7 separate regions of the Homo sapiens genome follow, and all the other regions are linked to region 1. Evidence: promoter capture Hi-C in 16 types of primary human blood cells and fetal thymus (Javierre and others, 2016). All regions are on one chromosome and are shown on one strand. Each heading gives the region's core, a stretch centred on a gene start or on the middle of the fragment in contact. The rest is flanking DNA. Distances are from core to core; before and after follow the strand shown.

Region 1 (3,824 bases), core at 591-3,090:
CGTTATCTCACCCAACCCCTTTGTGTTCTCCCCCACCCTGGGTAGCATCTCAATTTCGGCTCATTCCTCATAACAGAAGTCTTCCTTTCTCCTCTCCACCCTTGTATTAATCAAGTAATAAGTAAGCAGAAAGGTAAAACAAAGGGGAACGCTCATTTCAATGCCCGAAAATCCTGTCAGTTTTAAGAGACCAGAGAAGAAAACTCATTCTAGATCCCTCTAACACATAGTGGACTGGAAACGAAACAAAACGCTCTCGAGGGTGTTCTGTGAAGCAGGGTTGAGGGGAAGTTACAGAAGAGCTCTTGGACCGAGGGGACGGACCAAGGTTCTGAAAGAGGAAACTTGAAAGCAGGGCAGGTCGCGGGGCGAGCGGGCCCGCGCGAGCACCGCCGGCCGCTTTTGACACTCGACACCCCAGCCTTCACCCGGGTTGCTAAGAAACAAAAAGGCTCCAAGATCCCTGCAATTCCTCCCGGGCCTGGCGGAGACGACAGGGGCCTCCGGGGCCTGAAGACGCCGCAGGGAACGGCCTGGCCACTGCCCCGGGGGCGCGAAAGCCAGGGAGAGCGGGAGAGCGGGAGAGCGGGAGAGCGGGAGAGCGGGAGCTTGGGCTGAGGGGGCTGGACGCGGGGAGCGGGCCCCGAGGCTGAGGAAAAGGCCGCCCCGGGACTCTGAGGGGCGGGGAACGGGACCTCGCGGGGCAGCGACGCTCGGGCAGGCCGCGGCGGGCTCGGTTCCCGCCAGGCGGCAGCCCGGGGTCCCGGGCCGGAGGCCGGGCCTAAGCGACAACCCGGCTCCGCGAGGGGGAGGGGGCGTCTACTCACACGTGCTGACAGGCCGTGGTCCGCACGGGCGTTTTGAGCACCTCCTGACAGACGGGGCAGTAGAAATCATCTTCGGTGTAGGACGTGGCCGCAGAGAGGTCCTCGGCCATGGCGGGGGATGGGGAAACAAGGCGATGGCGACAGCGGCAGCGGCCGAGGTGACGGTGGCGGCCCGGGGCCCGACTCCCTACATGAACCCGGAGGGGGGAGGGGGATCGCATCAGGATACAGCGCGCGCCAGGAAGGGGGCGGGGCCCTGGGTAGGGCGGGGCCGAACGCAGAGACGCTACTGCCGCACGCGCCGGGCAAGAGGCGACCCCTCCCACGGCTCCTCCCACAGGGGGCTGGATGGGGGACGGTGCTTGGCGGGAGGCTGGGCTCGCAGCATGCCGTGGGCCCGCCCCGCTCGCCCCTCACCCCGCCCCAGGACGCGGCCTCACGCTCTAGGCCACGCCCTCACCGGGCTCCAGGCGCGGGCTCGCGCCCCGCCCTCAGCCCCCGTCTTCGCCCAAGGCCTCCCTTTTCACTGCTTTTCCGCCTCTACTCACCCCGACCCCGAGCCCCGAGTGCCCAGCCCGTGTCCGCGGCTTCCTCCCCGCCCCGCTTCCCGGCACCCCGGCCCCTCCACGCTTCCGCCGGGGAGACTCTCACCTAGGAGCCCCGAAGCGGCGTTGTGGACGGAGCTGCTTTTCCTTCACGTGTTCGTAGAGACCCGGCCCAGCGCTTTCCTCGAGCTTCCTGTCCGGCCGCCGCTATCTTCGCAGCCGAGGCCCCGGGGCAAATGGAGGGCGGCGTGCGCTGTGCTTATCGGCCCCTAACGGGGCCGGAGCCGAGGCTCATGGTGCAGGGAGATTCGCCCGCCGCCGCCAGCAGCTCTGTCTTGGCATTGCGCTGCCTACAGCCTACCCGGCCGTCACCGAACGCGGGAGCGCCGGGGATCTGGGCGGAGGAGCCAGGAGAGGCGGGGAGGCACGGGGTGTGAAGTGCGGCCTGTATAGCAACCGGCGCACGGCGCCTTCCGCGGGTTGTGACGTAAGCAGCTGGGCGCCCGCGGTGACACCTGCGCCTCCCCGCCCCGCCTCGCTAGGCCCGGGACCCCAGTTACCTCTCCTGTCAAATACATTGGGCCTTTCAGGAAGTTTTCGTCAATGTTCAAGATTTAGTCTTTACTATTTGCCCTACCAGAATGTTTTGATCTTGTCAAGATGTGTTATAAACAAATATTTGTTACGGGATTTTAATCCTTTGGGGGCAGGATTAAAGTTTCCTTGAGAGGATGTCCACTTTCTCCTTTAACAGCATGACCGATGCTTAAATACGGTCGCAGATGCAGTCTTCTACTACACCTTTGGGTTGATTTTTGATTTTTTCTTTTTTTTTTTAGCTTTGAAGAGAAATGCCGTAGAAGCATGGACGTGGCTTTTCACCAAGGTTATTCACTAATTTAAGTGTTTTTTTTAATTTTATTTTATTTTATTTTATTTTTTGAGACAGGTACTCACTCTGTCTCCCAGGCCGGAGTGCAATTATCTGTACAATTGATAATCTATAAGATGGTCCAACCTGCGTAACAGAGTGAGATTCCGTCTCAAAAAAAAAAAAAAAAAAGAAAGAAAAAAGGCCGGGCGCGGTGGCTCACACCTGTAATCCCAGCCCTTTGGTAAGCGAAGGCGGTTGGATCACTTGAGGTCAGGAGTTCAAGACCAGCCTGGCCAACGTGATGAAATCCCATCTCTACTAAAAATACAAAAATTAACCGGACATGGTGGTGGGAGCCTGTAATCCCAGGTACTCGGGAGGCTGAGGCACGAGAATCGCTTGTACCCGGGAGGCAGAGGTTGCAGTGAGCCGCGATCGCGCCGCTGCACTCCAGCCCTGGCGACAGAGTGAGACTCTCAAAAAAAAAGAAGAACAAAAAAAGGATAAATCGATAAGATGGGATCCACAATGACGTGAAAGAAGCTAAGGAAAATCTGGAACATTATACAGCATCTACAATTAGCTTCAGAGAAAAGAAAGGTTTTATTACCATCCTTTGTTAAAACCCTCCCCCATGGTCTAAATGAATAAACAGAAGCCATTTAAGGGACTATTTAAATCAATTCTGCCATTTATTGTCTATGTTGACATTGGCATTGTTAGGTGTTATGCAGATGTCATGAACTTTGCTCTCAACCTGTTTACATTATTACATATCTATCAGAATGAGAGAGAAAAAATGGTATTTGCCAAAGTATTAAATTTTGCATTAAACGATGGCTATAATGAGGATAGGAAATGGAATGATTAGAAATATATAGAGTTAACAGAAAACTTTATGGAGGAAATGGGTTTTAATGTACATCTCAAAAGCATTGATTCCTAGAATAATAATAATTTGTCCAATGAATAGCTAATTCCCTCTACCAAACTATATTTTGTATTTTTGTTGCTTTTCCTCCTTAGCAGCAAGCGCAGTGGAAGCAAGACAAGAAAGCTAATACTAGCTTCAGATTTCCTGGAAGGAGGAAGAGCACGTGACGAGAGGGGCAGCTAATAGCAGTAGTTCAGGTGCTTTTCACATTCACTTATAAAATGGTTCTTTGAGTTCAAATTTTTAACAGCCCAGAGAAGAAAACTCACTTTTTTTCTTTTTTCTTTTGAGACAGAATCTCACTCTGTCACCCAGGCTGGGGTGCAGTGGAATGATCTCAGCTCACTTCAACCTGCGCCTTCCAGGTTGAAGCAACTCTCCTGCCTCAGCCTCCCAAGTAGCTGAGATTACAGGCATGCACCACCATGCCAAACTAATTTTTGCATTTTTAGTAGAGACAGGGTTTTGCCATGTTGGCCAGGCTAGTCTCGAACTCCTGGCCTCCAGCGATCCGCCCACCTTGGCCTCCCAAAGTGCTGGAATTACAGGCCTGAGCCACTGTGCCTGGCCTACATTTTACTTTTTTGATAATTCCACTCATTTCATTCATTCTGACCATTTAGGAAGTAAGGTGTATTTTCTGT
Region 2 (3,824 bases), core at 357-2,856, 470 kb before region 1:
CTGAGGCAGGAGAATTGCTCGAACCCGGGAGGCAGAGGTTGCAGTGAGGCGAGATAGCACCACTGCACTCCAGCCTGGGCAACAAGAGTGAAACTCTGTCTCAAAAAAAAAATTTATTAGATGCTATAAACAGATATTCGTTTTTCATTCAGGCACAAGTCTCCCATTTGTCTGCATTTGTCAATTACTTCCATGCTTATATAATCCAGACTTTAGAGTTTAAGATTAAAATAAAAGGATTGTTATAGGTGTCTATCATAAGTCATGTACTGAGAGCAATATTTAATCCATCTTTTAATTTAGTGCATCTTTTAACTTAAAACATCTTTTATAAGCCCTATAATTAATAATGGTCTATAGTTTTTATGTCAATTTTTACAAAAATATAAACCTATAGTCTTAAAACAGAATATCCTCCTTTATGCAGTTGTCAGACAAAATGTTTCCATATCATATTCTAGTATATAACAAATTAAATCCTAGAAAACCAGCTTCATTGAATTAGAATTAGTTTCTCTTTTGAGGATTCAAATCTCTTCTAATTCTGTCAAATATATAATTGTAAAAATTTATTTTCCATTAAAACTTAATATTAGAATTTATATATAATAATTCTCAGGTGTCATGACTTTTAAAGACTTTTGAGATAACTTCCTAGATTAATTGAAATTTGGCATTAATATATAGATCTCTGCTCAGAAAAAAAATGGGTACATTCCTAAAGTACAAAGCATCCAATTTATGGAGTTATTTTTACCCCAGTTTTATGTCATTTTAGCACCATAAACAAGGGTCTCTAAGTTAAAGACTAATGGGAATAATAGCTAATAAGTTGTATTAAAGTCTTTTTAATACATTTCCTAGATATTGAGAAATTAAATGATTTGCAAAATCAGAGGGTTTCCAATGCTTGCATTTTACAAAATTATATGAGGTCATTATGAGGTCATCAGCTGCCAAATAATTAAAAATACTTTTGATTATGAATTACTATATTGTTCTGGCATACAACTTAGAGGGACTTCAAATAACTGAATGATAGTCCTATCTCAAAACTTCTTCCATTCCACCAACTTTTGCCAGCAAGTTTTCTCAGCACCCACCCCTAGGTTAAGAAAGAAAGGGAAAAAGAGAGTGAGGAAGAAGGATGGAGGAGGTGGGGAGGGAGAGAGGGAGGAGAAAACTGAAGGTGAATTCTGTCCCATTATAGTGATAAGCAATATTCATCTGTAGATTGACAAACTGATGGGGGAAAATGCCATCTTTATCCATTTCAATAGGAGATGCATTTTCAATAAGCTTTACACTTTATATTTTATAATTATGAATTTTGCAATACATTTATATGCTTTTGATGAAGTTTACACAAGTAATTTTGTAGACAATTCAGCACATTAAAAACTGTTAGCAGTTACAGACTCATCAAGGGTAGTAACAGCTCTTTAATTTAAATGTGCAGGCATACTTTTATTGTCATAGCAGTGTGCTTCTAGGAAGCAATTTTAGCAATCCAGGCTTGAGATGATTAGGTCACAGACTGATGTGACTTTAGATGTAGAAAGGAAGGAACAAATCTCAGATATTTTTTAAAAGATCCTAAAGGCACAATGACTTACAGGATATGGGAGATGAAATTAAAGAAGGTATCAAAGAAGACTCAGGAATTTTGACTCTGGGTGCTGGGAGAACTGTGATTTCAGTGACCTGATAATGATTAAGCCACTGCTTTTAGGAAGCTAAGGCTTGTGAGGGTAAGTCAAAACTAGTGTTCAACATGGTCTTAAAAATGCAGAAGATAGGATAGCAGGGGGCTGGTAGTCAGAGCATGGGTGAGCTTCATATCTCCCGGCATCTTTGTTTTGTTTTTCTTTTTTAATATTTCAGCAATCTTGGACCAAATTAGGCAAGCTTAGACCTTGCAGCTAGGCTCCATCTATATATAATGGTCATCTCTATTTAGATTATTAGTGACCTCTAACATCATTTTAATTTGAAAAAGTCATTATGATTTTATTCTTATTTTTCACAACACTCATTGACTAAAAGCTTAAGCACCAACCGTGCCCACTTTTCTCAGGAATCCTGCGGCTTCACGGTTCTAAAGAGAAAGTACCAATTTTGCTAAATCTTCCCAGCTATTCTGTATAAAGCCATTCCCCAAGAGTTAAAATGCTAAATCACAAGCACTTCCCTGCTTTCAGACGTGACTCATTCTTCAACTCCAGACCTGAGGGGTTGATGTTTTTTACAAAATGTAATGCTTTTCAAAATGCATTTTTTAGAGCTGTGCACCTCTCTCTGTGTAATTACATGCCACGTGACTCAAGTTTGAGATGCATTTTTTTCTTCTCCCCAGTGACGTCTGCTTATAACCAACTTCTCAACCTTGTCTTATTGTTAAACATTTTATTTTAAGTGACACCAACAGCATTTTAATTTTACTTGAAAAGATGTCAAAATTAAAACAATAAGATGGGCTGGTTCACTTTAGCTGCTGTAGTACCATGTTGTGTATAAGTCCATTCTCACACTGCGTAATTCATGAAAAAAAGAGGTCTAATTGACTCACAATTCTGCAGGCTGTACAGAAAGCACGGCTGAGAGGCCTCAGGAAATTTACATTCATGGTGTAAGGCGAAGGGGAAGCAAGCACCTTCTTCAGAGAGCGGCAGGAGAAAGAAAGCGTGAAGGGGAAAGTGCCGCACACTTTTAAACCATGAGATCTCGTGAGAACTCACTCACTATCACGAGCAGAGCAAGGGGGAAATCCACCCCCATGATCCAATCACCTCCCACCAGGCCCCTCCTCCAACACATGGGCATTACAAGTCAACATGAGATGTGGGTGGGGACACAGAGCCGAACCGTATCATTGTTGTTTTAAGAAAACTACATTTCATGGCTCATGTAATGGTCCATAGTTTCATCTGCTTTTAATAGTCTTTCCCGCCGGGCGCGGTGGCTCACGCCTGTAATCCCAGCACTTTGGGAGGCCGAGGCGGGCGGATCACGAGGTCAGGAGATGGAGACCATCCTGGCTAACGCAGTGAAACCCCGTCTCTACTAAAAATACAAAAAATTAGCCGGGCGCAGTGGCGGGCGCCTGTAGTCCCAGCTACTCGGGAGGCTGAGGCAGGAGAATGGCGTGAACCCGGGAGGCGGAGCTTGCAGTGAGCCGAGATAGCGCCACTGCACTCCAGCCTGGGCGACAGAGCGAGACCCCCGTCTCAAAAAAAAAAAAAAAAAAAAAAAAGTCTTTTCCTCATTGCAAGTTCTATTTCATAAATTTGTCTACTTGACAATAGGTTAAGATTCCTGCCATCATTTGTTTACCTACTTTATTGTATAAATCATTAAATGTTGACCAACGAAATTATGCTTACTTCTGCCTCTACTAAACTTCAAATATTATGATTCTTGAAGCATATGGCAAAGATTATTTTGCTTTTTTGTAATTTCAAATGGCTCCCCCCAAAAATAATTTTTCCGTTCTTTGTTAACAGTGCCTCAAATGGCTTTTTTTTCCTGCTTCTCTTTCCCATTCCCTGTAATCATGCTTTGTCTTCCTCACTCTACTTCATTTAGCTAACTGCAACTCCACCTATATTTCTTCTAACATCTGGTGTAACTTCATTCTTCTCCCATTACCACATATATTTTTCCTTTTCACTTATCTCCTTCAAGGAGGGAGAAAGAGGTAGGATGGGTAAGGGAGGGAGAGAGAGAGAGAGAGAGGGCAGGCACCTACAATGAACATTGACAGTTCTGCACTCCTCTTCATGCTTGGACCGCTCGAAGGCCCATTCAGCTGTGTGTCCTTCAAA
Region 3 (3,824 bases), core at 338-2,837, 450 kb after region 1:
AACAAACTAATTCAGGGATCTAAGGTTCATACCTGTAATCCCAGCACTTTGGGAGGCTGAGGTGGGCAGATCACTTGAGGCCAGGAGTTTGAGACCAGCCTGGCCAACATGATGAAACCTCATCCCTACTAAAAATACAAAAATTAGCCGGGCATGGTGGAACATGCCTGTAATCCCAGCTACTCCGGAGGCTGAGGCGTGAGATTTGCTTGAACCTGGGATGTGGAAGCTGCAGTGAGCCGAGATCGCACCACTGCGCTCTAGCCTGGGTGAAGGAGCAAGCTGTCTCAAAATAAATTATTTTATTTAGGAACTATATGATAATGCTGCTTTTATTTCAACTTTTAGCAAATCCTTCTCAGAATGTAGTCTCTAGTTCAGAATTACACAACTAAAGGTATGAAAGGAATTTTGGAGATGATTCAGAAGTGAGCTGTACTCATATAAATATTATATAACTATCATCTCACTAAATATTTAGTTAAATGGTTTCTCCCCCTACCCGTCCCTGCCTGCTTACTGATAATGTTCCATTCTCATATTGGAACAGTGGAGAGAGAGGGAAATAAGAAATAACTAGATTTATGTTAAACATCTGTCATCAACTTGATTCTTAATATTTGAGGCCCCTTTTTTAAATGAGAAAAATACCAATGCAGTTAGTTGATGGCAAATTAATTAGAACTGAGATCTTTCAAAACTAGTAATTTTGGCTGGCCAACCTGTTGAGACCCCGTCTCTACTAAAAATAAAAAAATTAGCCGGGCGTGGTGGTGCAGGCTTGTAATCCCAGCTACTCGGGAGGCTGAGGCAGGAGAATTGCTTGAACCCGGGAGGCAGAGGTTGCAGTGAGCCAAGATCGCGCCCACTGCGCTCCAGACTGGGCAACACAAACAAACAAAAAACCACTAGTAATTTCAGCAATTCCTAGGTATTCTTGAATGCTGCAGGTTTAAGTAGAAGATCTGCGCAGGTTGGACACCTTCTGGGGCAAGCTTGTATCTAAAGAAGAACATGAGAATGCTATGCAGGTCATTAAAAGTGAAGTGTACCTGTGACATTGACTTTCCATTCAGATTTCAGATGGAGGGCTTGATGAACAACTTTGGTCTATAACTTCCAGGCTTAAAGAACCAGGCAGCTGCTTGATGCTCTTGTCTACCCAGAGGCCTGGAGTTTCATTTATAGTCCAATGTACCTCAAAGATGAGTCTTGGCCTCCCTGTTTCAGAACTACTTGAGGCATATGGTGAAAATGCTGATTTTTGGCCAGGTGTGGTAGTTCAAACCCGTAATCCCAGTGCTTTGAAAGACTGTGGCAGAAGGATCACTTGAGCCCAGGAGTTTGAGGCTGCAGTGAGGTGTGATCACACCACTGTACTCCAGCCTGGGCTATAGAATGAGACCCCCATCTCTAAAAGAAAAAAAATGCAGATTCTTGAACTCAGTCCTCAAACATTCTGATTCTATTGGTGGGAAGGAACAAGAACTTGCATTTTTAACCAAGTGCCTCCAGTTTGAGAACTGCTCCTGGAGGTACTGGAAATGAGGAGGAATAGGAAGATGAAACTAAAAACACTGAAGGAGAATGAGGGCTTACTAGCTTCTGCTTACTCAGTGGCAGATAACTAGATTCACCTTAAGGTTACCAAGCCTAAAGCCATGTCATTTAGGGACAGTGTAGCTGGTGGTGTGCTGAAAATTTGAAAGCAGGACAGAAACTTGGTGGGAGAAATTGATGTGATACACATTTTTCTTGATGTTCTCCTCATGGTGTATATAGGAGAAAATAAGCAAGGGAAAAAATGGTGCATATGTTCAGCAAGATTTGTGGTTTTAAAGTAGGAGCAAACTGAATGGAATAATTTTGCTTGATCAAGAGGTGGTGAGGAGAGATTCAGGAGGATGAAGTGTTGTTTTATCAGAAGATAATGACCAGATATTCTCGGTCTCCACTGGAGGTGTATCAGCAAGAGAGTGGCTCAAACAGCAAATTAGGGCACATAGAAGAATGTCCTGAAACAGGCTATTAAGCCTTAAAATAAATGATCACAGAACACTGAGATCTTTTCTAGACAAAAAAATTGTAAACTATGGAGGACATTCTTCCACAAACACAAGAACTGATGTGCCAGATGAACTTTTAAGATATTGTTTAGCTTTATTTTAATAAAAGCTTTGCCTTAGATTTATCACATATTCACAATATTTAATAACCCTCTCATTAAAATTTGGACATCTATTTGCTGTTAGCACATTAGGTTAGCTTATTTGAATTTGCCAAGACACTGGTAATTTCTTTTATTACCGTCTCAGTTTCCTTATGAGATTAAAAGAAAAAACACTTGATATTTAAATACTTCATTGAAGAGATTATTGTATTAGGAGCTAGAACTTTACTTTTTATTTATCCTTATATGTTCAGCTCATCACTCAGTCTAATTGTCTTTAATTAATATGCACTGTCTTTAATTGGGACTCTGCAGCCATTTAATAATTTCTTCCCTCAAATATCTGTAATTGGCCTTAACTGCTTTTACAGCTCATTGACATTATGTCATAGGTGGCCAACTCGTGGCCAAATTCAAAATCAAGAAGGGCAGGCTTGACTTACTAAGCTACATGTTATCACATGGATATGCTTTAGATAAGGTTAGTGGTGGGATATGTACTCACCATCTAACCTCTTTTGCTCCTTTTACTTTTCATAGCACTTTTCCATCCTAAAAGTAAACCCCTGAGCTAGCTTCACAGTTGTTTTGATTCGGGAATTCCTTGAATATGCCAGCCATTGGCGCTGAAGCCCAGCAGTAAGTGCCCCTCAGTATATAGTTCCAGTACAGTTGGCAGCCATTGTGCGGGGGCAGGAAGGAGGTCTTGGATGTTGGGTCGGTATTGCTGGGGTAGCCTCATGGTCCTCAGGCTTCTGAGCCAAGAGAGACGTTATGGGGAAACCAAAAAGGAATGGGACCCAAAGTTGGGCTGGCAGGGGCACCAGACCTCTTTAGTTCCTACCATTTGCCAGATAGATATGCTGTGATTAATTATTATCATGAAAACATCAGCCTCATAGCAGCCATTGTCTCTTGTTTTTGCTATCCCATCAGCATTAAGGGAAAATGAATGGGGGAGTTCATAGTTTAGACATCTTCAATTTTACTAAATCATTTTTTGTTCTCTTTATAAATGAAACTTTTTGAATAATTTAAAAATTTCTGCCATCTATGATCCTGGTAACGTAAAATACATGGTTAAATATTATTTTCGTTTGATGATATCTAATATCATGTCCTGATTTTAAAAGGATTAGGTGCAAAACTTAAGTATTCTCAATTATTTCCATTTATTCATTTATTAATAAACTTTATTTGGTATAGGTAAAATTTTAGTAAATCATGGATTTAATATTCTTTCACAATATTCTGTTACAACCAGTTTAGATTGTATATTTAAAAAATCCAGATTATAGAGTAACACAGAGGTATTTTGGTTAGATATACTTTCACTGTTGTGTTTTTTTGAAAATCTAATGATTTTGGAATTTATGATCTGTAGAAAACTTGCTTTAATTTCAATTTTATTAGAAAATTCACAATAATAATAAAGCTAGCTCAGCTAGGAAGTTGCTGAGAAAAGTAATTTTGAAAACACTTTAGGTTTTTCAAGGGCAAAATCTAAATTATAAGGAGATCTAGATTGTATGACAAAGTTTGTATCCAAGAAATAGAGGATTTGAATTAGTGATGATTGATGATCATTCATTTATTCTTGTATTACACTAAAACATTTTATATAAATGGTGTTTTTAAGTGTTGGGTTTGAGAG
Region 4 (3,824 bases), core at 810-3,309, 450 kb before region 1:
TGTCAGGGATGAGAAGAATAAAGAAGAGACCAACCAATAGATAGATGGGGGGATAAAACCAATAGATAGATGTTTTTCTCTATGATAAACACATTCCTAAAATTTAATCAGAATTAAGATGGCAATTTTCCCTTTTAGGTAAGAGCAGCATTTTGTTGATGTGTTTGAAAATGCCTAAACCCTTTGAAAGAACAATAATTCCTTTAGGTGACATGGTAGAGGGGCCGTGGTGATACTGAGGGGAAGGAACATATAAGGTCCCCTGTCTTCTATGCAACAGCACCTGTCACTTTTATGATTGCTAAAAGCTCTACCAGCTCATGAGGCCCTAGTAGATCACACAGCCAGGAAGTGGGAGATGAAGAGTGGGTAGGAAAGAGCTGGAAAAGCTGGAAGGACTGAGATTGCTTGCAAGGAGAGAAATGAAGGCAGGAAGTGGCGGGCGGAGAGGCAGGGAGAGTGGTACAGGGGAGAACACTGGAAGCAAACCAAACCACCACCACACATGTGCCAAGGGATGGCCACAACCTTCATCATGATAATTTACTAAATAGTGCCTCATAAAGATTAAGGAAAATGGGGAGAGGAATGTGGTGAGTTGGGAGAGATGGGGAGTCACAAAGATTGACTACCTGGAATCCTAAAATAACTCTCTCAGAAGAAACTCTGCCCAAAATGCCCCATTTGGTTTAACACAAATAAACCTGCACCCCGACACCATCCAGCCAGCCTCCTTCCTGCCTGCATGCCTGCCTCTTCAGTATTTCTCAATGCTTTGAACTCTCATCAGTTGAATGTTTTGATGTATTTTACGAAACATTGGAGAGTCTTGATTGCTTATGACTCAACTAATCTTGTCCTAATGAAGACAAGGAAAATATTTTTCTTTAAAGAAAAATAAAGTGACCTAATTGTGTATCCATGGTAATTTTTATTTGAATATTATCTCTGGAGACAAAGGCAGAGGAGTCATTTTGGGTGTTTACAAATTATGTTATTTGCATAAGGATCTAATCTCACCTAGTTTATCTGGTTATTGATATGGGCATGGAAAACCAAACTGGAAAAGATAGATGATGGATGAATGTGGAAAATCCATTAAGTTAGATCCCACTAATTCAGAAATGGTGATATATCCAGCCTTGAGAAAACGTACCTCCCATTTATTTAAACAGTAGGCAAATTAATAATGTAAAAATAGTAGAAGAAAATACTGTTTGACCTACTAAAGCAAACAATACCTCACCTTACTCAGATATCAAGTACTATACATGTCTAAGTTTCAAATAGGAAACTCATAGCCTATTTTTCATGAACACGGTCATGAAATAAGCCAGTGGCAGACTTTTTCTTTTAAAATTTGGACCAATCTCTTATTTATAAAGTAAATAAAAGCGTAGCTAGAATGCTTTGTCAACTTAAAAGGACACTCTCAATTTACATACAAGATGTATGTTGCTATGTTCTAAAATTAAATTTGCATTTACCTACTAGTTATCTTATTTCTGGATCCTGGGACACTTTATCCCAAGAAACAGAGTCACTTTGTTCAGCAGACTCCAAAGTTCCCTGATCTTTGGTGAGATGACTGCAGAATAAAAGACTTAATGATTGTCTGGAACACTGGTTTTTATGTGTACATGGAGTATTTTCACAAAACAGGTGTCAAGATGATTCAGGGCGATTATATCTTCTGAGTAGGAGGAGAACAAGGAGAACAGAGATGTGACACTATCACATTCACATTCCTTGATCCATTTTCACATCTTAAATATTTTAAAAAGCTGGGAGATCATTTTCTTTTTGTTTTTTGTTTTGTTTTGTTTTTGAGATGTAGTCACCCAGGCTGGAGTGCAACGGCGCAACATTGGCTCATTGCAACCTCCACGTCCCAGCTTCAAGTGATTCTCCTGTCTCATCCTCCTGAGTAGCTGGGATTACAGGTGCCCGCCACCACACCTGGCTAATTTTTGTATTTTTAGTACAGACAGAGTTTCACCACGTGGGCCAGGCTGGTCTCGAACTCCTGACCTCAGGTGATCCACCACCTTGGCCTCCCAAAGTGCTGGGATTACAGGCATGAGCCATTGTGTCCGGCCAAAAGCTGGGAGATCATTGGTAAAACCTGTCACTCACTCTATCTAAATTCCACAGGAACCTACTGGCTTATTTAGACTTTGGAAGATATGTATGATAGCTACAAGTTCTCCCTGAAATACTTCAAATATGAAAAGTCAAGAAGGGAAGCCAAGGTCCTTCCTCTTTTCACAAAATTTGCCTTGACTCACTCACCTATGTTCATTGATTCATTGGTTCCATGAATACTTACTGGGTCCTATTACATATACAGTAATTAGAAAAAGTGAAGATTTAGATTCCCTTCCTCCTAAAGTATGTATAGTATGGAGGTTCTGGGGTTAGGGGTAGCACTTCGAGCAAGATTTGAATGGAAGTAAACATAAAACATTAAGAAAAATAGAAAAACAGGCACATTTTCTATCTCTTCTTAAAAGAAGAAGCAAAATTGAGTAGAAGGAGAGAAAAATCATTTCCTAGGAGGAGACTTGAGAAAGTATTTGGAGAATATGGTGGTAGTTGAGGTGGATTTGCAAAATTGTTTTCAGCATGACACGAAAGTGAACTGTCCAGGAGAGAGTAACTTGAGGAGCTAAGAAATTGACATGGAAAACTAAAAATATAGGGTGATGTTAAAATCATAACTTGGGATTTAGGTACATGAAAGGAAATATTAGCAAAGACTTTGGCAAGGTAGAATAGGCCATTTATTCAACAGACATTTGTCAAAAAGTCTGCTATGTACCAGACACTCTACTAAGCACTGGGAATAAAAAGTTGGTTAAAGACTTTTCTACCGATAGTAATCCCGTTAGACTAACAGCACTGGCGTCACCTGGGTCTTATTAGGAAGGAATCAGATCCCACTCAACATCTAATGAGTCAGAATATGCATTTTAACAAAATCCCTAGGTGATTCCTACCAACCTTAAGTTTAGGAACTACTGACGTAATACATTGTTCGTATTTAAGGAGCTTACAGATTATTGGAGGAGACAAGCAAACCTGTAAATGCAGTGTACTATGATAAATGCTGTGAGAGAAGATGGGGAAGCATGCTGAAAAGCAAGTCAAACAGGGGGAAATGTCAAAGGAGGGAGAAAAAGAATACAGTTGTGAACCTATATTACAAATGCAGCACAGCTGTGCCAGTATCGTCTAACTGAAGCCATTTACCAATTGATAGAACATTCATTTTATTTATTGTTTTTTTTTTTAGAGACAGGGTCTTGCTGTCACCTAAGCTGGAGTGCAATGGTGTGATCGTAGCTTACTGCAGCCTCCAACTACTGGGCTCAAGCAATCCTCCTGCCTCAGCCTTCCAGGTAGCTAGGACTACAGGCTAGCATCACCATGCCCAGCTAATTAAAACAATTTGTGTGTGGGGGTGAGGGGGTGGGGTTGGTAGAAATGAGGTCTCACTTTTCTGCCCAGGCTGGTCTCAAACTCCTGGACTCAAGTGGTCTTCCCAATTTGGCCTCCCAAAGTGCTGGGATTACAGGCATGAGCCACTGCACTCAGCCAATTTTTCTTGATTGCCTTTGTGTACCAAGTTCTATTAGTTCAATTATTTTATTTAATCCTTCACTTCCACTTGTTTGGTTCAAGGCACCATCATCTCTTGCTTACAGGATGTGTAAGCCTCAGCCTTAGCTGGCTGATAAATACCACCCATTCTCCTCCCCACTAGTGTATTTTGCTGTAGCCCGAACAATCTTTTCAAAACCTGAATCTAATTTTGCCATCCA
Region 5 (3,824 bases), core at 934-3,433, 430 kb after region 1:
GTAAACTAGTATAGTAAATTCAGGTGTAGGCAAGTTAAATCTAATTATAAGACTACTTTCTAGAAAGCCTGTAGACATGCTTTTAAAAAAGGTATCTGTAAAGCTTATGTGAAACCTGGATTTCTGTTTGTCTCTTTTTTCTGGAGGTGAAAGAAAAGTTTTATTTTACTCTGCTTTTCTAGTAGTTTAATTTATGCTCTCTTCATATGTACTTTGAGCAAGTTCACATTTACATAAAAAGTGGGAAAGAAGGTAGTAAACATTAAATTTCTCTCATCCCTCTATTCCATCTTGAGAAACTGGAGCAGCACTTAGAAAATTAGTCAGCATTCCTAATTTTTTTCATTCAGCATTCATCTTTGGAGAGTGTCATTACTGTATTCAGAGACAGCTTATCTTAAAATTGAGTCATTCACTGAGGCTTGCAGTTTCTTGGTTTTTGCCATGATAGTGAGCCTCTGCCTCTCATCTGAATGGAGTTTATGATTTTTTAGCTTTGTGTTTAGAGACTTTAAAGAAGAATGCACTACTTGCACACCTGCCTTGTGAAAACGAGGAAACTGAGATCCAAGGAGCTGTACAAAGTTATGCACAGCACTAACAGAATTGGGACCAGGAAAGGAGTTTCTGACTTAGTTCTGTGCCTCTGGGGAGTCTGGACATCTCAAAAGTTAGGGATTTTTGCGATAAAGCTTTGTCAATTTACCAGTTTCTCCCAGCAGAAGAAATTTGGGTCCTATTTTTGAAGCACTTATTGTGAATAATTAAATTGAGCTGCTTTAAAAATACACATTGATTTTGATTTTATTTGCTTTTACCATCCTGGTAGAAAGATTTGTGATTGAAAGGGAGTGTAAAAGTTTAATTAACTCTTAGAAATGACCCAAACAGATACTGATCCTAGATCACCCCTCCCCGCAAACACATCAAGAATTTTCAGGACCATTGCAAGATCTTTATTCCTACTAGATATTATGGGATTTATAAGGAATCCTAGCTTTTGTGAAGTTTTTGGTAGGAAATTAATATATAATTAGAGAAACTGAATTTTGTAACTGTAGGATTGAGCATCTGTAATAAAATGCCTTTTTGAAATTTCTAAGTATATTTTATAGTAGAAAATCACAGATGTGGGGGTTCATTATAATATTTTAGTTTGTTCAGTTAGTTTCATTCTATTTGATAGGTGGGTATTTCAACTTTTTTTTTGTTTTTATTCTTAAAAAATCAGTTTGTTTTTGTCAGTTTTTATAGTAGGCAATATTTTATATTTCTGTTTTGCGTTTGGACGTGCTGATTGAGTCAGTTTATGTTTATTGGGCACTTCCCCAATTCTGAATATTATTTTATTAAATAAAAAAAAGCTTACTGTGTTATGACATTCTTTCTCTATTTTTCTTTTATAGCCAACACATATCTCTTTATGGTACAAGCTCGAGGTATAATGTTGAGAGAAAATGTGAAAACAATAGGTCATATGATCAGGCTGTACACAAATAAAAACAGTACGCTCAACGGTACAGGTAAGACTACTTCCTGCTTAACCCCTTGTAGTTACAAAGCAGTAAACCAAATCTTTTACAGTCTGTTTTGCCTTCAGGTAACTTCCTGTTAAAGATGAAGAAGGTATCTTCCCCTAAGCGTCCTGGTAGATTATTTTACTGTGCAAATCAAGACTGTTACCTATTTTAGGATGTATGAACGTGTGGTCACAAAAGTGATGAGGTTTTGTACAGACACTTAAGTTAATTCTTGTAAACAAAATATAGAAAGCAGCTTCTACTTTTTCAATTCGTATGTTGTATTTAAGAGAAATTAACCAGAGAATAATTTATTCATCTTAGTAAGCCATACTACCATCTCTCTTTATGTTCATTCTAGTTCCTAAGTTGTTCTTCCAACTAGGTCTAGAAAATAGTTGTTTTTAATTATAGAAGATTGTTAATAGTGTTATGGCCTTTTTAAGGAGCTAAAGGAGAAATTTTATAAAATTGGAAATTGGTAGCTACTCCTTTTTATTTTACTTATTTATTTTTTTAGACAGAGTCTCGCTCTGTTGCCCAGGCTGGAGTGCAGTGGCGCAATCTTGGCTCACTGCAAGCTCCATCTACCAGGTTCACGCCATTCTCACGCCTCAGTCTCCCAAGTAGCTGGGATTACAGGCGCCCATCACCACGCCCGGCTAATTTTTTTTTAAATTTTTGATAGAGACGGGGTTTCACCATGTTAGCCAAGATGGTCTCAATCTCTTGACCTCGTGATACGCCCGCTTCAGCCTCCGAAAGTGCTGGGATTACAGGCATGAGCCACTGTGCCCGGCCTACTCTTGTCTTTTTAAAATGTTACCTGGAAGTAGAAGCTCCATTAGAATTCCAGGAGGTTAAAATCTAATAGGCTGAACCAATAATTTAATGATGGTAGAATTGATGTAAATAGATTTCACTATTGTGGAAGAATGTGAATGCTCGTTTATGGCAGGGTTGCCACAGTGTCTGCCAGGGTATTATTAGGTGTTACTTTAAAGGATTCAGTGGGGTTGTCAGTTGTTGTACCCTTTATGGTCTCATTTTGAACAGTTAAAAATAAAGATTTAATTTGTGTTAGTAATTCTTCCTTGTGTCACTGTAAACCTACACATTCTACTAAGAGAAAGTCTGTCTTTCAGCTGTAGATGTTCTTTCTTAAATGTATGTCAAGGTGGGTGATAGTTTTAGACCCTTCTAAAAATTCAAGACTGTGACATATTGATCTCAATTTAATATCACATGTGCTTCTATAAAATCCATTCTAGTCATTTGCCTAATATGTTTATGATGCCACAAATCAAAACACTCTTGTTTTATTTTAATTTTTTAACCTTGAAGGAATTTTTTTAGAAGAACTGCCTCAGCATAGTTGATGTTTTAATTCTACAGTAAAAGTCTCATTAACTATTCTTTAGCATGAATGAGTCTTCTGAATAGTAGGTCAATTTTAGAAGTTTAAACATTTTAAAAGCTTCTGTAGGATTTGTGCTGGTTGAATAAGTTGATTGTAAAAATGTTCACTGAAAGTTTGTTCAACTGAAAGGAAATAGACATCTTTAAATTGGTGTATTTGTGTGAGTGCTAAAAATTTGTGCATATCAGCTTGTTTTCCCTGGGGTATGAATAAGGTATATGTGTGGATGTTGAGCTTGATTAGGAGGAATGATTACATGGGCAAGACAATCTTTCCCCATAGTATCCTGCAACCAAAAAAAAAAAAAAAGGAAAATCCTTTCCTCCTCTCACCAAGTCATAGTTTCAATAAAGACCAAAGAACCAATGCATACTTAGATTAAAGTTTGCTTACTTTTATGAAACTTTGAAAACTTTTCATAGGGTTCCTTTACTAATGGTAAAACTGTTCTCAGGAAACAGTCATTGTATACATTAGGGATTAGGTTTGGATGTAACAGAGACCTGCCTGTGGTGGTTTAAACACATGAGGCTTTCTGTTCTCATGTGAAAGAACTCTGCAAGTTGGATATCTGTGGCTGTTATGGAGGCTCCTTAAAGTAAGTCATCACACACTTTTCATTTTCTGCCATCTGTCATGTGGCTCCATGGTTAACTCATAGTCTAAGATGGCTGCTGTTTGAACTTGGGTCAGTAGGAAGGAGGAAAGCGAGAACAAAGAAGAACAAATAAGGTACCTCTTTTCTGGAGCCTTCCCAGAGGTCCCACACAGTATTTCTTCATACATTTAATTGGCTAGAACTTAATTGCATGGCCACATGCGATAACACTGGGAAATATAGTCTTGACCAGAGTATGCTGGAACTCTAGTGAAACTGGCATTCT
Region 6 (3,824 bases), core at 784-3,283, 410 kb after region 1:
TCAAATTAGCCAGAGAAGTTGAGTTGTGAGTACTCCAACAAGCAAAATATTAAAAAATGAATTTCAACTTGGTGATCCCACCTAGTGAACTAATGGGATATAAGGAACCTCTTACGTCCCAGACACCATGCTTAGCATTATGCACAGTTATCCATTTAATCTCACAGCCTTGCAAGGGGGTATTATATCCACTGTTTGAGGGCGGAGAAAACAGGCTCACACAAAGTAGTAGCTTCCAGGGGTCTCACAGTTAATATTAATGAAAGGCTTGGGCTTATACATAGGTGTTTCAGGTTCCACATTGCAAAGCATTATCTCAGGGACGATCTATGGCATGCGCATCCCGATAAAAACGTACCAAATTTATTGGCTATCAACTACAGTTCCATCTGGAAATACTCAGCAAATAATGGCAGTAAGGCATCCCGCCACTTCCTGCATGATTAGTTGAAAAAGAAACACCTGCGCACACACATTTGAACAATGTGATACAGCTAAGGACCTGGACAGTCAGCTAGCAGGAAGAAACATTTGAACGAAGGGTAGACCACGGCCTAGGAGGTGGATGAAGACACCCGTCCGTTTGCCTACTGAAGCAAGATGGGGCTGAGGCGCTCAAGGGCCTATTGGCTGCCCAGAAGCCTTTGCAGCGCCGCCTGAATACAGCGAGGATGACCCAGGGTTCACCTTCAGCGTTGAAGGCAAGTCCTGGTATAAGGGACGCACATAGGTCCGCGCCACATCCTGACACTGTTTCCACAGGAAGTGCGGGATAGGAGGGGGGATTCATTAATCCAGGTCGGAAATACACCTTGTTCCTCGAGGATTTTGGAAGGAAATTCCACCCGCGAAGTCCCCTTTTGGAGATGCCCTTTTCCTTTCAGGTACAGCATCCTTCATTATGTACCCCCAGGGTACAATGTATCCGGGGCTCGCAACGCGTCCCTCAACCCCCAGCAGCGCGGTCACCGCGGGGTCCCCGGGCGGGCGGGGGCGGCGGTGACGCAGGAGGCGGTGGGGCCCCGGTGCGGCGGGCGCGGGGAGGGGGCTGCTGGGCGCGGGCCTATCAGGACGCGCGGTGTTTCGGGCGCGGGGAGGGCGGGGACCTCCAGGTTTCCTCGGGGCCCGGCGCAGCGCCGCCTGCCGAGTTCCGAGCGAGCGCGCGAAGCGCGCAGGGGTCTCGAGACGTTCCCGCCGGTCCCGGTTTTCCTCCGCGGCTCCCCCGCCCCTTCACGTCCGCCTCTTTCTCCAACCAGACGCGGCTCCGACGGCGCTCGGCCTCTGCTCTTCCGGCTCCCCGGCTCTGCCCGCAGCGCGCGTCGCCCGGTTGCTCTTCGCCTGGTGTCCGCGGGCCCGGCGGGGGCGCCTCACCCCGGGCGCGCGGCGGTAATGCCGCTGCCGCCCTTGCGGCCAGGCAGGCAGCTGGCGGCGGCCGGAGTCGGAGCGCGTTCGTCGCTGGCCGGGACGCCGCCCTGGCCTGTGCTCAGCTCCCGCGGCGGCCGCGGGGCGCCGGGGCCCGGCGCGGCATGAGGAGGCGGCTCGGTGCAGGCGAGCGCCCAGCTCCTCGGCCCCGAGGGCCCCCGCGGGCCCCCGCGCGTGGCGCGCGCTGGTTGCGGCCCCGGCGCCCACGCTAGCCCCGCGCAGGCAGGAGACGCCGCGGCCCGGAGTAGGAGGCGGCGCAGGGCCTGCCGAGCGGACGCGGGCGGCCCGGACCTTAAGCACGGGGCTTCGCGGCGGGACCCCGCCGGGCGCGGGCAGCGGAGCCGGGCGTGCTGCAGTTAGCTGCCCCTCTCCGCAGGGGCGCCGCGGCGCGCAGCCTGCGCCTCCTCCCACCTGCAGCCCCTCCTCCCGCCGCTGCTTGGCGGAGAAAACGCTCCTCCTCGCCCTTCCCCGGCTTTCTTCCGTCCTGCCGTCCCCGGGCCCCTAGCCCCCAGTCCCCTCTCCCCCCTCCACCTCTTGTCCCTCGGCCTCCGCGCCTCCCCTCCCCCGACTCTCTGGCCTCCCATTCATTCCGTCCGCTCCCTCCCATTTCCTCTTTTCCGCTCGGGCCCTCTCCCCAGAGCCTCCCCGCGCGGACCCCGCTGCAGTCTCGGGGTTCTCAGCACATTTATGGAAGTTTAGGGCCTGGACAGTGGCCCCGAGTCCGGCCTGAGAGCGCAGCCTGGGCTGCTGGCAGGGAAGAGGAAGATGTCTGTGCTCAGGCGGATGATGCGGGTTTCCAATCGCTCTCTCCTCGCCTTCATCTTCTTCTTCTCCCTCTCTTCGTCCTGTCTGTACTTCATCTATGTGGCCCCAGGCATCGGTAAGCACCGAGACACACCCTCGCTTCCCCTGGTCACACCACAGCCAGCGCAGGCTGTTATCCGATGTTACTTCTGGGATTTGGAAGCTGTTCAAACAGGGGCCCGCAGAAAAGCGTTTTGTTTTAAATGTTATTTCAGACGTGTCAAACTGCTTCAGGGCATGGCTTTGGTATGTGAGTTTTGTTAATGCATGCATTTTGTTAATGCATGTTTGTTAATAACGTAAAAGATTGCATTAAATAGACGTAGCAAAATTAGTGTGATGGCCCGGGATGCCCTAGTCGCTTTCTTGAGTGTTCATGACAGCTTTATCCATTTAATGTTAAGTCTTTAAGCCTAAACTGAGTGCTTAATCGTAGTTTTATTCAAACACTCTCGGGTATAATAACTGGTTGTAAAAATATGGAGGAGCCAGCAGCAGGGAATGTGATTGAGTCCAACAATGTGTGTTTTCTAGGGTCCTAGGTCGCTTTTTTAGAATGGGGTCAGTGGACCCCATTCTTTTTGTGCCATACTTGGGGAATTTTAAGGCGATGAGTTGTCTTGTAAAAACAATGCTCCATTATTTTAGTCTGCTTGGGTGTTATTTTCAAGGGTACGTTGCCTTTGCTACCTGTTAGGATGACTTCTGAGAAAATAGTGATTAAAATAACCGTTATCTAAGGGAACTTGTAGTTTAAAATGTTAACCGGTTTATCATTTTTTGGCCTTTGGTGCAAAATACACTTTTGTAAAACTGCTTGAATTAACTTCTTTATTAAATATCCGAATTCCTCGTCCCCCATTTGTTGAAAAGGAGCCAATGCGGCGTTAATTCTAGTGAATGAGAATTATGAACTTCACATGCATATTAAAATATGTCATATTTCCAAAACTTTTCTGAGTTTTTCCTGGCTATTACGTATTTAATGTTCAATTACTTAGTAACAGTGAGCATCTCCTCTCATTTCTCCTTACACACTGTGGTCGTTTGAGCCAGTGCTCTTTGTTCCGAGTTAGCTAAAAATGTAATGCCCCTTACAGAGTGAAAACACCTGCAGAATTTTCAGATGGAATGATCAGGGCATTGTCTTGAGTGTAGTAGATTATTGCAGTGAATTGCAGCAGGGAAGGAAGATGGAAACCTAATCCAGACTGCTTCATTTCTTAAAATTACTATGAGACTTTTTCTTTAATAATTAATTTTTGGATTCAGTGAGGTGTATAAACTCAGATGATGATGTTTAAGAAGAAATGCATTGTGAAACGTTGACGTATCCCAAAATAGAAGTTTTAGGGTAAAGTTTGAAGAATATTTTAACATTATTGCAGTTTTCCTTTAGGCCAGAAAAAACAAAAAACCTCACAAAAACCTACCCCTTGAAGCCTATAGTACAAATGACAGTGGTAGCTTAGTGGATTTGATATTATCTAGATACTCAACAAGAGCTTTCTTTATTTTTTGCCATTTTGGAGTCTTATAAATTAACTCTTCATTCTATAGCAATTTTTACTTTCTCATGTAACTCTTTAAAAGTTTGG
Region 7 (3,824 bases), core at 576-3,075, 380 kb before region 1:
TCTTCTACTCCTTGCCTGATATAACTATTTTCCCAAATCTAATCATTTCTTATTTTTCAAATCTATTCAAATCGTCAGCATTTATCTCTTCATCTTTTCTATAAATTTTGCCCTTTAAAGCCAATGGTTTTTAATAATAATAGCAAATGTTAATACTTCCATAGCACTTCCTATGCATCTGGCACTATTCTAAATGCTAAATGTATATTAAATGATTAAATTCTCATATCAACCCTATGAGATGAGTACTATTATTATCTTCATTTTTCAGAGGAGGAAACAGCAAGTTTCCCATGACATTAAATAGAAGCAGAGCCACTAATCAAATCCAAGCCATCTGGCTCTGGAGCTGATATTTTAATTCACAAATCTCAGTTTGTAAAGGTACTTAGTAGGAACAAGGGACCAGTGCATCAATTGTTGCCTTAAAGAAAACTTTTCTTGGATGTTCCTTTTCATAAACTTCAAAGTCCTGTAAGCTTTGCCCCTGCACCAAGTTGTAATGCTTTTGTATACACAGTTTGCATTGTTCCAACAACCTTAAGAAACATGTTTGGAAGTACAGTTCAGCCAGACTGAAAGATTACCCCTCTCAACTGCTTTTTGTTTTTGTTTTCGGCAGTTTAACCAAAACTCTCCATCTCACAAATAAAATCCTTCTGTAAGAGTTCTTCCAGGACATGAAACTTACTAAGAATTTGCAGCTCACTAAAATTTCTTCCTTTTAATACTCAAGATTGAAATAAAACCTTTTCTGCAAGGTCAGCAATAACAGATCTAATGTAAGTCCTTTATTGATTTTTAAAAAGTTGATTACATTAATCTTTTTACTTTTTATCTTGTCTTTAGGTCAAAAGTCACCAGTCCTTTTGTGAGAGGAAACTACTTCTCTTATTCTCTGAAGCTTTTAAAGAGAATATAAAAGTAACAAAGTCATTTTTTTAAAAATCAGCCTACCATATAAGGGTTTAGGATCTACTTACAGGTTGAAAGACCCTTGACCCTGCCCAATCTTAGATGTTTCCTATGTCATTTTTGGATTCTGAGCTTTATTTCCAGAAGTGATTAATTATTCAGAAAAAGAAATTAGCTGGCACTTAAATCTTTAAAGTTTTGAAACTTTTTTTTTTCAGACAGAGTTTCGCTCTTGTTGCCCAGGCCAGCGTGCAATGGCACGATCTCGGCTCACTGCAACCTCCGCCTCCCGGGTTCAAGCGATTCTCCTGCCTCAGCCTCCTGAGTAGCTGGGATTACAGGCACCTGCCCCCACGCCCGGCTAACTTTCTGTATTTTTAGTAGAGACGGGAGACGGGGTTTCACCACGTTGGCCAAGCTGGTCTCAAACTCCTGACCTCAGGTGATCCGCCCGCCTCGGCCTCCCAAAGTGCTGGGATTACAGGCGTGAGCCACCGCGCCCGGCCGAAACACTCTATGTGAGCAATTCTTAGAACTTTATGGACTTCTGATTCTGCATACACTCTATAGTAAAATACTTCCCACTTTTTTCCAAGACTTTTTCAAAAAATCAATGTGAATGACCCAAAGGTCAAAACTTTCAGATGAATTTTGTGAAAATTATCGCTAATGCTTCAAAGTGAGAGGATCAGGAAGGTGGGTGTAGAAGAATCTGTGTTTTTCTTCAAATGTTAATGGAGTGGTTTATTAGCACAGACCTTTTAAGCCAGGCCACGAAAAGGCAGCGGGATGTTTTCAAGTCCCCTTGGGCTGGCGAAGCGGGTACTTGCTGTACCTTATCAAGCACTGAACATTGAATACGTGTTGAAAACAGAGCAGATACGCAACCTTAGCAACCACTCACCTCTGCTATTTTAACAAAATGTTAAGCAAGCGAAAGAAAGAGAAAGAAAGACAGAAAGAAAGAAAGCAGATTAGCATACAAGGCAGGACATGCCACCTTTATATTCTGAGCTCTGTCCACAGTGAGCAGGCCGTGTCAAACATCGGGAGAGACAGAGAATGATTGATCATGCAAAGCAAACTGTAGGTTTGAATCCCAGCACGGCCATCTACGAGTTATAAAATCTTGCCAAACTACCTAATGTCTTGGTACATATACCTAGAAAACGAGAATGATCCCAACCTTTAAGATGAGAAGAGAACTGAATGGGAAAAGCGGGTGAGAACAGCTGACCCCAGCAGCCTCCCAGTAACCTAGTTTTCCCTTCCCATCTCCGTGTCTACGGTGTTTGGTGGCCTCATCAACTCCCGTCGCCTCCAGCAGCTCGTTCACTCAGTGAAGGTCCTAGACCGAATGGCCACCTTCCTGTATGTGGGTACTCATCACCCACCACCTTTCCGCTTTTCGGTGCTTTGCCCTTTTTATCTTATCTAGTAGCCAAAGCTGAGACTGTTGGGAGTCATTTCCAGCTCCGATGGTAGAGGAGTAGGGTTGAGGGGAAACGCCAAGGCGTGCTCCACGCCTGCCGTCCGCAGCCCCGTTGGGCTGTGGTACTCTTCTGACCAAAGTCTGGGTCACCGGGAAGCAAGAGGGAGCGCCACTAAAGGTATCTTTTGTGCCTTGTATTTAGCCACCGCATTGCCAGGATGGGAGTGGAGGCGGACGGTGCCCGACACCACGACTCAGGGAGCGATACCTGAGCTCGCTCGGCAATTCCCGGGCTCCGGGGACGGGCCTGGGCGGGGAAGGAGCCGGGGCGCGCAGCAGCACCCGGCGAGACTGCAGGGCGCCCGAGTGGTCGGACGGGGGAGCGAGAGCTAAAGCTTGCGGAGCGCGCCGAGCCGCGGGCGCTGGCGGCCCCGGCCGGGGAGCTGACGCGAGCCTGCCGGGCCGCGGGAGCTGCGGGAGGCGGAGGCCGAGCTGGGGGCGGAGCGGGCGGCGCCTGGGAGGCGGAGGCGGTGTCTCCCAGAGCTGCGCAGGCGTTGCTCGCACCTTGTTGATTAGTCAGTGCTGGGAGCGCTGCTATGGCGTTTCTCAGACCCGCGGCTCCTCCTCACACGCTCGAGGCGGAGGGAAGGAGGGGTAAGAGGAGGAGGAGGCGAGCGGGCGGCCGCCGCAGCTGCAGACCCAGGGCCAGAGGAGGAGGCGGAGCGGGAGCCGCCGCAGCCACCCGGGCCGCCGCCGCCGCCCGCAGCCGCGCGGCTGCTCTGAGTCTTCTCCGGGCGTGAGGGCACGCGGGGCGCCCCAGCCATGCCCCGCAGCGGCAGCTGAGCCGGGCGCCGGCCCCCTCCCTCCGGGCCGCCCCAGTCGCCGCGCCCCCCCGGCTGCCCGCGGCCGGAGCTGCCCGGCGCCTCCCGCGCGCCCCAGACCGCGAGCGCGAGCAGCGGCGGCCGCCGAGGCGCGGGTGGTGCCGGTGGCGGCGGCGGGGGAGCGCGGGACAGGAGGCTTCGGGGAAGATGGACCCGGCGCCCTCGCTGGGCTGCAGCCTCAAGGATGTGAAGTGGAGCTCGGTGGCCGTGCCGCTCGACCTCCTGGTCAGCACTTACCGGCTGCCCCAGATCGCGCGCCTGGACAACGGTGAGTCCCAGCTGGGGCGCGGGGCAGACGGGCGAGGACAGCCGTCTCCACGCGGGTGTGCGCGCGTGTGCTGGAGAGGGTGGGACCCGCGGGGAGTGGGCTGCCCGCCCCTGAGCGCCGGAGTTGGCCCGAGCGGCTGCCGCAGCCCTGGCGCGTTGCTCTCAACTCCCCCCAGCAGCAGACAAGGAGGTGGAAATCAGAGTCCTTGCAGTATAATTAAAAAGGACGCCCTAAAAAAAAAGTCAACATAGGGAGACCTCTGCAGATCGTAATCTTGGACGCCAGATATCCCTCCCCACCCTCCTGCAAGAATTACTCAACCAGGGAA

Evidence for each region. Contacts are between HindIII fragments. The CHiCAGO score rates a contact against its expected background, and 5 or more counts as called.
Region 2: a fragment that was not itself captured here is called in contact with the fragment with the promoter of RNF138 in region 1 in 1 of 17 cell types (non-activated CD4 T cells); the score reaches 5.3 in non-activated CD4 T cells.
Region 3: a fragment that was not itself captured here is called in contact with the fragment with the promoter of RNF138 in region 1 in 1 of 17 cell types (fetal thymus); the score reaches 5.7 in fetal thymus.
Region 4: a contact is called between a fragment that was not itself captured here and the fragment with the promoter of RNF138 in region 1, in 1 of 17 cell types (total CD4 T cells). The highest score is 6.5, in total CD4 T cells.
Region 5: a fragment that was not itself captured here is called in contact with the fragment with the promoter of RNF138 in region 1 in 1 of 17 cell types (fetal thymus); the score reaches 7.1 in fetal thymus.
Region 6: a contact is called between the fragment with the promoter of B4GALT6 here and the fragment with the promoter of RNF138 in region 1, in 2 of 17 cell types (fetal thymus and monocytes). The highest score is 7.2, in fetal thymus.
Region 7: a fragment that was not itself captured here is called in contact with the fragment with the promoter of RNF138 in region 1 in 3 of 17 cell types (activated CD4 T cells, non-activated CD4 T cells and naive CD4 T cells); the score reaches 7.3 in activated CD4 T cells.

Annotation. Positions count from the first base shown.
Region 1 is chr18:32,089,890-32,093,713 of GRCh38, reverse strand. It overlaps RNF138 (ring finger protein 138), which reads right to left and starts at 1,840. Exons shown (of 8, transcript NM_016271.5): 1 at 1,479-1,840; 2 at 828-1,014. The coding sequence starts at 937. LOC124904278 (a long non-coding RNA gene) reads left to right here and starts at 1,769. Exons shown (of 2, transcript XR_007066327.1): 1 at 1,769-1,859; 2 at 2,212-2,439. It also overlaps a transcript of RNF125 not described here. RefSeq lists a silencer at 1,002-1,421 and an enhancer at 2,092-2,141. The HindIII fragment of the contact is 10,157 bases long and covers 1-3,824 here.
Region 2 is chr18:32,555,289-32,559,112 of GRCh38, reverse strand. No RefSeq gene overlaps it. Among named protein-coding and RNA genes, the nearest start is that of GAREM1, 86 kb to the right of the region's middle. The HindIII fragment of the contact is 609 bases long and covers 1,302-1,910 here.
Region 3 is chr18:31,639,785-31,643,608 of GRCh38, reverse strand. The region is part of intron 4 of B4GALT6 (beta-1,4-galactosyltransferase 6); the gene reads left to right. Among named protein-coding and RNA genes, the nearest start is that of B4GALT6, 43 kb to the left of the region's middle. The HindIII fragment of the contact is 1,180 bases long and covers 998-2,177 here.
Region 4 is chr18:32,537,635-32,541,458 of GRCh38, reverse strand. No RefSeq gene overlaps it. Among named protein-coding and RNA genes, the nearest start is that of GAREM1, 69 kb to the right of the region's middle. The HindIII fragment of the contact is 4,340 bases long and covers 1-3,824 here.
Region 5 is chr18:31,663,955-31,667,778 of GRCh38, reverse strand. It overlaps B4GALT6 (beta-1,4-galactosyltransferase 6), which reads left to right. Exons shown (of 9, transcript NM_004775.5): 2 at 1,407-1,523. Among named protein-coding and RNA genes, the nearest start is that of B4GALT6, 19 kb to the left of the region's middle. The HindIII fragment of the contact is 1,633 bases long and covers 1,367-2,999 here.
Region 6 is chr18:31,682,790-31,686,613 of GRCh38, reverse strand. B4GALT6 (beta-1,4-galactosyltransferase 6) reads left to right here and starts at 2,033. Exons shown (of 9, transcript NM_004775.5): 1 at 2,033-2,302. The coding sequence starts at 2,188. RefSeq lists a silencer at 897-1,936. The HindIII fragment of the contact is 10,803 bases long and covers 1-3,824 here.
Region 7 is chr18:32,469,980-32,473,803 of GRCh38, reverse strand. It overlaps GAREM1 (GRB2 associated regulator of MAPK1 subtype 1), which reads left to right and starts at 2,922. Exons shown (of 6, transcript NM_001242409.2): 1 at 2,922-3,496. The coding sequence starts at 3,376. RefSeq lists a silencer at 2,648-3,167. The HindIII fragment of the contact is 1,838 bases long and covers 907-2,744 here.